Regions from separate parts of the Homo sapiens genome. Here all the other regions are linked to region 3. The links are contacts of gene promoters, found by promoter capture Hi-C in blood cells and fetal thymus (Javierre and others, 2016). All regions are on one chromosome and are shown on one strand. The core of a region is centred on a gene start or on the middle of the fragment in contact, and the rest is flanking DNA. Distances in the headings are between cores, read along the strand shown.

Region 1 (4,165 bases), core at 861-3,360, 200 kb before region 3:
GTGGAATAGAAGGCTGAATCCACCATGATAATCCCAGGTATTTCAGACAGACAGGAGTGAGCACAGATTGGAGAAAGGAGGATGGGTGGAAGACCACCCAAAATGAGCTCTCAAACACAAATGCCAAACTATGCAGGGAAAACTAACCCCAAGAAATTCAGCCAACAGAATCACCAAGAGATAAAGACACACACACACACACACACACACGCACGCACACACACACACACCCCATAGGCACATCAGAATATAAAAGAAGAATGAAAATAATTTCAGTAAATCATCCCAGTTAGATCTGTAGCTACATAAATAAAATATTTTTCCTTACTAAGTCTGCCATTTTTTAAGTGGGATACTTCTAATTAACAATCTTGTACAGAGAATGAGTGCTATATAACCTAAGGTAGAGTTTTACTGAGTATTTTTCTTGAGTACATCTCACATGCCACCTAAAGGGGAGAAACTACTTTAAACCAAATTTTTAAAAATTTTAACTAACAAATGAAATATCACAAAAAATAACCTCCTAGAAGTTCAAAATCAGAGAACTCACAGTCATTCCACCTAATGTCCACCTCCAGCAGAAATCTCAAATCTCTCTGCACCATCCATGACACCTGCCCAACTCATTCCCAGTGAAATAAGTCACTGCTTCCAGAGCCAGCATTCCCTTTCTGAACAGCTCTAACTGTAAAGAAGTCTTTGTTACACTAATTCAGAACCTGGCAGGTTCTGAGATTCACTAATTCAGAACTCTGAAACAAAAGTGAGTTTGAATCCTGGCTCTACCACTCATCAGCTGTATGAGCTTAGGTGAATTATTTAATTTCTCTACTCCTTCATTTCTTCACCTGGTAAATAGTGATAATAATAGGTATCTATGCTCTGAGCTATTGTGAAAAGTGTTAACTCATGTCAATGATTGGGACAGTGTCTGGAAAATAGTAAGTGCCATATAAAGGTTAGCAATCATTCCACCTTTGCCCTTCAATATTCTCTTTGAATACCACTAAACAACTGCTATCGTCTCACCTAAGGATCACAGATCTTTGTACTGTTTCTCCTGCTGCATGATTGTTATTCTCTTTCCATGCTCATCAGGCTCCAATTTGCTAATACTCTTTTGCAAATTTGATTGCCACGTTTAAACAGTGTTCATGTGTGCTCTGCTCTGTACAAGATAGAATGTGTTCGTTCATGCAGCAATTTACAATCAACACCTACTCCACTTTTATTAATATTTCCAAAAAAAGCTTGTTTGTATAGGGAGTTTGAACCTCAGTTTACAATATGAGAAATTTTAATTTCTTTATATTTTCTATTACTGAATTCAATTTATATTGTGAGTTCCCATGCTAGTGAGTGGCAGAGACTTAATATGAGTCAATTTAAATTTAGTTTCCCTCAGAGTTGCATCAAAATTCTGGAGCCATAGGTTCACAGAACTTATAATGTCAAGGTTTTAGGGATCAAATGGGAGACAATACGTGACTGTCAGTGGGTATCTACACTGTCATCCACGCAGATGCCCTGGTTCCCTTCAAATCTTCACTCTGTGTTTATTGGTAGTATTGCACCCTTCTGCTCCACTCTGTTGTTCCCATTACAAAGACTTCTTTAAGAGCCAGGTGCGGTGGCTCACACCGGTAATCCCAGTATTTTGGGAGGCTGAGGTGGGTGGATCACCTGAGGTCAGGAGTTCGAGACCTGCCTGGCCAACATGGTGAAACCCCATCTCTACTAAAAATACAAAATTAGCAGGGCGTAGTGGTGCACACCTGTAATCCCAGCACTTTGGGAGGCCAAAGCCAGTAGGTCACTTGAGGTCAGGAGTTCGAGACCAGCCTGGTCAACATGGTGAAACCCTGTCTCTACTAAAAATACAAAAGTAGCTGGGCATGGTGGCGCATGCCTGTAATCCCAGCCACTCGGGAGGCTGAAGCAGGAGAATCGTTTGAACCCAGGAGGTGGAGGTTACAGTGAGCCGAGATCATGCCACTGCACTCCAGCCTGGGTGACAGAGTGAGGAGACTCTGTCTCAAAATTTAAAAAAAAAAAAAAAGAAAGAAAAAAAAAACACTTCTTTAAGATGCTGATTCTCTTTTGAGTCACACCTGTGCCTGAAAAAATTCTTACTCTGGGACCCTGCTCTGAAATGTGGAGAATTCTGCTGTGTTTTCAGGCCCTATGACCATCTGCTGCTGCAATGCCATGCCACAACACAAGGAACTCCATGAGGTTCACATCACACACACAGTTAGGCTTCCTCATCCAGCTAGGTGATGGGGACTTTGGAGCTTGCCTCCTCCCTACCCCCACCCCCAGGCACTACCCGGAGACAGAGGCATAGGTCTCCTGGGATTGCCTATCTCCAAATGGATCCAGTTTCCTCAACTCTCAGCCAACCCCTACAACCTCAGAAAGCCACCAGGGCTCATCACGTCCTCTGAGAATATCTCCATCCTTCAGCATAGGGAATCTTGTTCATTTCCGTGAAGGAAATATCGACTCCGATTCATCATGTTTTCTTCTAAATAGCCATAGGCTCTTTTGAAAAATGGAAGTTACAAACTTCACCATATCTTAAAGTTTACTTTCTCCTATGGCAACCTTTACCCAAAGAAATGAAGGCAAAACACCTAGCTTCCCAAATTGGAGATAGAGAAAAGGAGGGATAAAGTTAGGAGTAATAGAGAACATGAGAAGAAAAGTATCAGAGTTTTAAATTTTCTCATCTTATTACCTTTTTGGTGATATTCAATCAAACTGAGTCAATTCCATGATCAAATAAGAAATATTTTCCCAGGACCTACTCCATGGCAAGCATTGTGTGATGAATAAGACACGGGCCTTATTTTCAAGACACTTACTTTCTTATCACTCAACTAGGTCTCATCCTTTCCATTTCCTCTTCTTCTGCTTTATTTTAGATTGTATAATTTTTCAGCTGTATTATTATAAGCTTTTCACCTGCTTCAAATCTCTTGCCCTTCAGTTTTATGTGCCTCCAACTCATCCTCCACACTTTCTAAAACATTAATCTAATCATATCATCCTTTTACTTAAAAAGGTGCAGTGCTGCAATTATCTTCAGGCAAAATGCCAACCATGGCACTCAGCCCTTGAAAACATTATTTCCTCTAGTTCTGAAAACAATTATATCAGATAGCTATTATAATCTCAGTTTTACAAACAAAGAAACTAAGGCTCGGAAATCTTAAACTGTCATAACCAAGTCCATGGGGCTGGGAGAACCAGGACTCAAAATCAGCTTTCTTGTCACTAGATCCATTGCTTTTAATATTAATATTCTAGTCTCTTTAACCAGTTTCACCTCTTACTCTTCTGGAGAAAAACTGCTACTGTTACTACCATTGCTACACTAAGTAACAACATCATTTTAGATTACACGTCCTTATTTGTCAACAATATAAAGAGGCAAGGAGGAAGAAGACACTTACCTAGCTGGCTGAATCAGTCAGTCAAATGAGCCTGGCAGTCCATGGGTGACAAATTTTGAGCCAAATCACCCTTGCATGCAATGTATGATATACAAAGACTTAAAGATAACATACTAAGTGACCTGTTCCAGTTCATACACTACATTATTGTGTAAGTAGAACAGAAATCCCAGTCTCTGAATCCTCTGTCCATAAACCATACCAAAACACACAGATCCTCTAATCCAAATGAACAGAAACCTTTTAATAAGTTAGCCCAGTATAGCAAGCAACTTAACATTTTTGAAAGTTTTAAAATATGGCAACTAATCACATATCTAGGAAGTATGTGGTACAGTTAAATGGCAATTCACAGGCAAACCTCAAAAATACCAAAGTTGCTTATGACTGTAAACCTCACTCAAGTTTTTTTCCCAAGTGGTTTCAATATTCAGTTGGAAGAGTGACAGTTGGACTTAATGGTTTTATTTTCTCACTTTTCTTCAGAAACCAATCCATCTCACTACTGCAGTGCTTTCCAACCTTTTTAAACCCATGACCCCTTTGGATAAACTGAAAATCTCATGACACCATTCCCTTCACCGCCACCCAGAGCTTTGTGTATGCAGAAAATAAATTATATTTCTGACATACCATGTCAGATACGAAAAATTTTTGCATTTTATTTTGAAGTTGTTGTAAGAAAAGGGGTGTTTGATTTTCCA
Region 2 (3,869 bases), core at 547-3,046, 240 kb before region 3:
TTCAGAGTCCACCTCTCAGAAACTGGAATATGGAAACACTGAAAAAACTGTAAAACCTTTTAGAATCAGAAACTGAGATACAGGGTAGAGTAGGACTATGAAGACAATAGGGAGTTCCAAGTTACGAGCAGGACAGAAATGCTAGTAGCATAAGCTAAAGAAAAAATACACAGTCCGGGGTGAGTGGGAATGCTTGCTAGTGGGTAGTGGAGAAGGTGGTGACATTATATATGTGTGTGTGTGTATGTGTGTGTGTGTGTGTGTGTGACATATATTTATCTATCTATATAAGTATATAAAATGCCATTATATGACATACATACACTATGTCATATGACTATATATATATATATTGAGAGAGAGAGAGAGAGAGGAAGAGAGAAAGACAGACAGAGAGAGGCTGACTCACAAAGAGATTCAGAAAGACAGCATGTCTGCTTTCTAGGATAGATTTGATACCCGAAGACGTTCCAGTTGTAGTCCAATAAATTCCGCTCTTTCTGAAACTGGCCTGCATGATTCTCTTTCTCTAGAAATCTAAAGTGCCCCAGAAGCACAAAATGACTTTTGGGTGACCCAAGAGGCTGAACCCTGTGCAGGCAGCAGTGAGGGATCTGTGAAACTGGTGGGAGTTGTTTTTATGAGCAGACAATGATGGTGGCTTCCTTGGTGTGACCTCAGAGGGAAAAGAAAGCAGCATCACCTTCTTGGTCCTAATTCTCTCTTTCATGAGCCCTCTAAATTATCTCTCCCACCTCACTCCACTCCCTTTTTTAACTAAAACATAAAATTAATTCATGAATATGGCTTTTTAAAAAATTGGCCAGGCACGGTGGCTCACACCTGTAATCCCAACACTTTGGGATGCTGAGGCAGGCAGATCACCTGAAGTCAGGAGTTCAACACCAGGCTGGTCAACATGATGAAACCGTGTCTCTACTGAAAATACAAAAATTAGGTGGGCATGGTGGTACGCACCTGTAATCCCAGCTACTTGGAGGGTGAGCCAGGAGAATGGCTTGAACCCGGGAGGCAGAGGTTTCAGTGAGCCGAGATTGCACTCCAGCCTGAGCAACAGAAGGAGACTCCGTCTCAAAAAAAAAAAAAAAAAAAAAAAAAAAAATTCCCAATACAAAAGTGACAAGTAAATCACCTCCTATCCCAAAACTCTTAGTTCCTTGAACATTCTCCTCTGTCAGAGATTGTGCTATTATCTCTTTTTTTTATAGTTATCCAGAGATATTTTACAAATGTTCTAGTGTATAAATATACTCACACATAAATAACTCTTTAACAGAAAATATAGACTGTGTTTTTGCACAAATATGAGCATATCTACAGGACATATTTGCAGAAATAAAAATACTGGGCTCAAAAGTATGTGCCTTTTCCATTTTAACAGATAAAGCCAAATTCCCATCTTCAAAGTTGTATTTATTAACACTTCAACAAGTGATGCATGAGAGAAACACATACTCCTTCCTACCACGCCTCATCAAGTCTTCAGAGCTTTGCCAAAGAAATAGGCAGGACATGCTATTCCATGACTTTAATTTGTATTTCCTTAATTTCAAAATGAGGCTGAGGGTCTCTAAGATTCCTTTTGATGCCTTTCTAGTCTACCTACCTTCCTTTGCCCTTTGTTCTCCTGCTACTGCACGTTCTGCTCAAAGAATTGCCCCCAAACCAGTAGCATTGGCATTACCTTGAAGCTTGTTAGAAATGTAGAATTTCATACCTTACCTCAGGCCTGCCTGATTCAAAATCAGCATCTTAACAAGACCCCAGGGAACTCATATGTACACTAAATTTCAGGAGCATAGTTACAGACATTCTTCCCTGGCTTATGATGTGAAGCTCATTTCAAGTTTACAAGCTTCCAAGAAGTTCAATGTGGTTCAAGTGAAAGGACTCCGTGGTGCTTGGCCATGGAGTGGTTACTGTCACTACCATGGTTTGACTTATCAAATCCTCTGCCTCCATTCCTTCCCTGTCTCCAGGGTGTAGACAGCCTATTTCTAATTCGCATCACTGTCATCTCTCTGCATGTCACTTATTTATTAATGGGGCATACACAGCTGATGATTTACAAAAATATGCCAAGTCCATGAGTGTGCTTAACCAGGACATATAATTATAGAAAATATTACCATCAGCTGAGTAATGTATTCTCTATTCTTTATCTCCAGTTAATCAGAAACTGCATATCCTGGGCTCAGAAAGTCCATTTCGAGGTGTGAATCTGATTCACAATAAAGAATGATTTTCCTAATTCTGTAAAATGAAGTGATATCATTGCCCTGTTCGTGCAGTTTTAGCTTGGTAAAGGTAGCCCCTTAAAAACTAACAACGTAAAATTGGTGTTAATAACAACATCTCTTACAGAAGAGTTATAAAGCAATGCATATAAAACATTGAACACAGCACTGGATGCATTGTAAGTGCTCAATACATTTTACTGATGGAAAAAACAAAAACAAAAAACAACGAGGACCCTTACATATAAGTTTGCTATGACTATCATAACAAAGTACCACAGATTGGGTAATTTGGACAAGTCTATGTTGCAATCTTCTCTTCTTAGAAAAAGAAGTCGTATTAAGTTAAAGCCCACCCCAATGGACTCATTTTAGGTTAGTCACCTCTTTAAAGACACTATCTCTAAATATAGTCACATTCTGCAGTACTAGAGATTAGGACTTCAACTTGTAAATTTGGAGGAGACAATTCAGCCTGCAACACCTTCCAAATAAAATGTGATTTGAAAAGTAAAGATGCAATGACTGGCTTCCTTTTGTTGTTTTAATGAATATAGATATTGCTAGAATAGTCTACAGAAAATGTACACATGAAAAGTGACCCAGTGTATGCATTTAAGTAAGTTATCTCAATCTCTATATTCCAGTTTTTCTGTATAAACCAGGAAACAAATGTATACCCTATCCTGTCCAAACTTTTCCAACAGACCACAAAATTTCAGTCTTTAGAAGTGACTTTTATCATCTTCAAAAGCTTGTGTTTATTCTCCTCCCTGTGGTCTTTATTAGAGTGCAGCCATTTCCAAAGCACTGCTGCATGGTCCAACATTCACAGCTGTCCCAGGACAGAGCAAGTCCTCTGTCACCATTTCACAGGTGAGGAAATCAACATCCAAGGAGCTTAGGTAAGTTAACAACATTTCACAAATCACAGGTAATAAATTGCAGCTTTAAAAACAGAACCAATCATATACACTGTAGATTCCAGCTACTGTATATGACATTCTGGAAGAGGCAAAACAGTGGAGACTGTAAAAATTCAGGGGTTAAGTGGAAGGAAAGAGTGAATATGTGAAGCAGAGAGAACAGAGGATTTGTAGGGCAATGAAACTACTCTGTGATACTATGATGTTGAATACATGCCATTATAAATTTGTGCAAACCCATAGAATGTACAATACTAAGAGTGAGCCTTAATGTGAACTATGGACTTTGATAATTATGTGTCAATGTAAGTTCATTAATTGTAATAAATGTATCACTCTGATTGGGGATGGTGATAGTTGGGGAGGCTGTGTATGTGGCGGGGGAGGAAGTATAGGGAAAATCTCTGTACCTTCCATTCAATTTTGCTCTGAACCTAAAACTGCTCTGAAAAATTAAATCTACTAAAAAAAGAAGAAACCCAATTCTTCAGGCTCCTCCAGTGAGGCATTTCAACTACATTCTAAGCAGATTACAATTTTGGTGAGCATTTTTTGTGAGAAAACAGAAGTATAAGAGGACACCCTTCTGAGACAAAAGAGCTAAAAGCACAAATAATCTTAGTACTTTTCTCTAGAGCTAGTTTCCCTCTCCATAAGCTTAACTAGAGTATGGCATTTTACGGCA
Region 3 (4,096 bases), core at 691-3,190:
CCTACAAGGCCACCGCCCCAGCCCACTAGTCTCAACTTGCCCCCTCCCCTGTGGCTGTGCCTTGACCCTGAAAATCTTCGCGCACTCCTGGGTTTCACCACCACACACACGCGAGCGCGCGAGCGCGCGAACACACACATCAAAAAAGAAAAAAAAAACCGTGATAAATGCCCTGGAGAGTCTAAGTGCATTAAGGACCTCGTTCTCGGAGACCCCAGACATGCCGATGTTGGTGCTGCTGTGGTTGGAAAACTGGGTTGGAAAGCTTCGCACTGTTCTACACTTGCGTGTGCGCACTCAGCAATCCTTTGGCCATCTCATCTGTTGTGGGCGAAGAGTTTCCCGTGTGATCGCGTTCGGTTGGGGAAGCAGAGTCCCGACATCTCAGCCGGAAAATGCGCTCCCGGAGCGATTACTGGCGGCGTCTGTAATTGCTTATTAACAGCGAATATTCAGGCTTCTCCTTATCCGCAACGAAACGTGCCCCCCGCTTCCGTAATAATGAAACGATAAAATATGACGGCCCCGCTCTTGAATCTATCTGAGGAAACGCAGCGAAGAAACAAGCAGCTGGAGTTTAATTCAATATCAAACTGATTATTTCACTAATTATTCTACCTTCTGTATTTGCCGCAGAGCAGAGGCGCAGGGAATCCTAACTGTGGGGCTGTTAGGGAAGCTTTGTTTCTTGGTGTCAGGCCTAACTGAAGATGGTGGTGAAGGGACGGAATCCGGGATCAGGAAAACTGAGCAGAAAGGATTTTAAATTGTGGGGAATAAAAGTGACTGTCTCCCCGAAAGCAGTTGTGTTGGCGTGAGTATGAAGTTGGTGTTAGCTCGCTTAGTTTCACTCTTGTCCTGTCCCCAGTACCCTGTCCAAGCTTCTGATTTAGAAGCTGAGAGCTTAGGTCCTCCAGGATGGCAATGTGCTCTGGCCGTCCCCGGAATCCCAAAAGCTTAGCGCGAGTTTCCTCTCTACAAACCTTTCCCACTGGGTAAAAGGATGGGAACAAACAAAAAGTGGTTCTGTGCGTTGAAGGCCAGGGAGTTTGCCTTCGACAAGAGGAAGGTGTGCTTTGAAGTTACAGCTTCCGACGAGGAAAGAGACTTCCTTGGGCCTGTCTCCAACTTGCCCCAGTTTCCCCAGCCTCCGGGACGGGCGCTTCCCTGCAAGCTATCAGCTTGAAGAGTCTTTCTCTCTCTGGCCTCTAAAATCTGCTCCAGCCATCTCATTCCTCCAGCGGAGGGCTGAGATGACTAATGCGCCAAGGGTGGACACCGCTATGGAGACCCCAAACTTTGTCCCCCTAAATTCCGGCGAAATTACAGACACCAGGATTGATTATCACAGCGGGACGCAGTCTCAAAAAAAAAAAAAAAAAAAAAAAAAAAAAAAGGAAAAGAAAGTCACAGGCGACTTGATCCAATTAGTAAATGCCTAATTGAATTAGTGTCACCTCCACCAGCCAATAGGAGGGTCTCCGGGCTGTGAGGCCGGGAAGCCCCTCCCTGGCCGCAAATATATAAAGCAGCTAGTGACAGCCCATAAGTTTCCAAGTGGTCAACTTGACCGATGCTTTGGCAATTGAAAAAGGGCAGAAAGGCGCGGGCTAGTGGGTGGATGGGGACAAAGATCTAAGTCACCTTCTTCCAGCGTGTGAGCCTGGGAGGAGGGTGGGGGTCCTGAGGAGCAAGAGGTACGAGGAAGGAAAAGGAGAGGGCTTCTGGGTTAGTTTCCACCTCCTGCTTTCCAACTCACGGCGCTTTCCTTCCGGAAAGGACGCTGGATTCAGGGCGCGCCAGTACGCGCAGTAGCGGCCCGCGAGTCGGCAGGTGGGTAGCCCCGGCGCGGGAGGAAGGGGAAGTTACCTTCCCCTCGGAAGAGGGCGCTGGCTCCCCCATCCTGCCTTTATAATAAGGCCACCGGAGGAGAGGAAGCAGCCAGCTGCCGTCTGCGCTTTGCAAAGCATGCAGTTAGGGGAGCAGCTCTTGGTGAGCTCAGTGAACCTGCCTGGCGCGCACTTCTACCCGCTGGAGAGTGCGCGAGGCGGCAGCGGCGGGAGCGCTGGCCACCTCCCCAGCGCGGCCCCCTCTCCTCAGAAGTTGGACTTAGACAAAGCGTCCAAGAAGTTTTCCGGCAGTCTCTCCTGCGAGGCGGTGAGCGGGGAGCCCGCAGCCGCCAGCGCAGGGGCCCCCGCGGCCATGCTTAGTGACACCGACGCCGGGGACGCATTTGCCAGCGCTGCGGCAGTGGCCAAGCCGGGGCCCCCGGACGGCCGCAAGGGCTCCCCCTGCGGGGAGGAGGAGCTGCCCTCCGCCGCTGCAGCCGCCGCCGCCGCCGCCGCCGCGGCTGCGGCCACTGCGCGCTACTCCATGGACAGCCTGAGCTCCGAGCGGTACTACCTCCAGTCCCCCGGTCCTCAGGGGTCGGAGCTGGCTGCGCCCTGCTCACTCTTCCCGTACCAGGCGGCGGCTGGGGCGCCCCACGGACCTGTGTACCCGGCTCCTAACGGGGCGCGCTACCCCTACGGCTCCATGCTGCCCCCCGGCGGCTTCCCCGCGGCTGTGTGCCCACCCGGGAGGGCGCAGTTCGGCCCAGGAGCCGGTGCGGGCAGTGGCGCGGGCGGTAGCAGCGGCGGGGGCGGCGGCCCGGGCACCTATCAGTACAGCCAGGGGGCTCCGCTCTACGGGCCGTACCCTGGAGCCGCAGCGGCGGGATCTTGCGGAGGACTGGGGGGCCTGGGGGTTCCAGGTTCTGGCTTCCGTGCCCACGTCTACCTGTGCAACCGGCCTCTGTGGCTCAAATTCCACCGCCACCAAACTGAGATGATCATTACGAAACAGGGCAGGTGAGCGCAGCGTGGAGGGGCCCCTGGGTTCGGGGATAAAGGGTGACGTGTGGTCCTGGGGAAGGTCCGGGATGAGGGAGCTGAACCCAGTTGTTCCGCGCGGTGCTTAGAGTGTTTCACCGCGCGCAATAAATCTCCGTAGACACCGCATCTCCAATGCGGTGTCCCTCTGTGTCAGTGCCCCGGCGGCTCTTGCAGGGTGCCAATGTTACGGCTGTACACCGCTTTTCCCTCCCATCATCCTCACCTGAACAGACCTGGAGGAGGCGGAAATGGAAATTAGGGCATGTCCACAAGCTGGATTCGTTAGATCCTCCTGCTCGGCGGTATGCTTGTGCATGCCTGCATGCCGGCAAGGAGCCACGGATAGGGAAGGCTCAAGAGCTGGCCACCTGAGCGCAGTAGATGGGCTCCCGCAGTTTTAGGCGCCAGGGTCTCCACGGGGCGTCTCCGGGAGGTGGGCATGAAGGCTAGAGCGCCGGCCTCGGAAGCTCGGTCGGAGTAGGTGGTTAGATCTGCCCTGGAGCCAGACCTGGCTCGGGTTCGGTGCGCGAGAAAGTTCTGATATACATCCAACTGCTAACACTGGCTACTTCTGGGGAAAGGGAGGGGTGGGTGCTGAGAGAGGGGCACTCAAAGGGGACTTTTAGCCTAAAGTTTTAATATATATTTTTAACAAGAATAACCTAATATTGTTCTCTGGTACTTTTCAAAATGGTGCATTTAAAAATTAGTAGTTTTTAACATTCTAGGAGAAAAATTTTAAGAGCGTCTGAAAGGGCCGAGAATATGAGCCTTCGGAAGCACGCGCGAATTTGGAATATACCGATGTTGGGGCAAGCTTTTTTTTTTTTTTTTTTTTTTTTTTTTTTTTTTTTTTTTGAAAAGACGGAAAGGTTCCAAGAGTTGCCAACTCAAAAATATTTTACATAGTTTCAGACCACTTGATCTACCAGCATTCTGTTCACTGCAAACTTTTAAATGTGTTCCGACCCTATCCCAGGTGTCTGGGGAACCCGCTGGGGCCTGGGCCTGTTCTAGGACATCCCAATTAAAATCGATTTTTCTGATTCTATTCCCTTGCACAGGCGCATGTTTCCTTTCTTGAGCTTCAACATAAACGGACTCAATCCCACTGCCCACTACAATGTGTTCGTAGAGGTGGTGCTGGCGGACCCCAACCACTGGCGCTTCCAGGGGGGCAAATGGGTGACCTGTGGCAAAGCCGACAATAACATGCAGGGTGA

The links. Contacts are between HindIII fragments. The CHiCAGO score rates a contact against its expected background, and 5 or more counts as called.
Region 1: a contact is called between a fragment that was not itself captured here and the fragment with the promoter of EOMES in region 3, in 6 of 17 cell types (total CD8 T cells, non-activated CD4 T cells, activated CD4 T cells and 3 more). The highest score is 12.9, in total CD8 T cells.
Region 2: a contact is called between a fragment that was not itself captured here and the fragment with the promoter of EOMES in region 3, in 5 of 17 cell types (total CD8 T cells, activated CD4 T cells, naive CD8 T cells and 2 more). The highest score is 10.4, in total CD8 T cells.

Annotation. Positions count from the first base shown.
Region 1 is chr3:27,923,233-27,927,397 of GRCh38, reverse strand. No RefSeq gene overlaps it. Among named protein-coding and RNA genes, the nearest start is that of LINC01981, 91 kb to the right of the region's middle. The HindIII fragment of the contact is 1,709 bases long and covers 1,256-2,964 here.
Region 2 is chr3:27,960,462-27,964,330 of GRCh38, reverse strand. No RefSeq gene overlaps it. Among named protein-coding and RNA genes, the nearest start is that of LINC01967, 66 kb to the left of the region's middle. The HindIII fragment of the contact is 164 bases long and covers 1,715-1,878 here.
Region 3 is chr3:27,720,167-27,724,262 of GRCh38, reverse strand. It overlaps EOMES (eomesodermin), which reads left to right and starts at 1,940. Exons shown (of 6, transcript NM_001278182.2): 1 at 1,940-2,849; 2 at 3,938-4,092. The coding sequence starts at 1,969. RefSeq lists a silencer at 2,305-2,514. The HindIII fragment of the contact is 2,734 bases long and covers 959-3,692 here.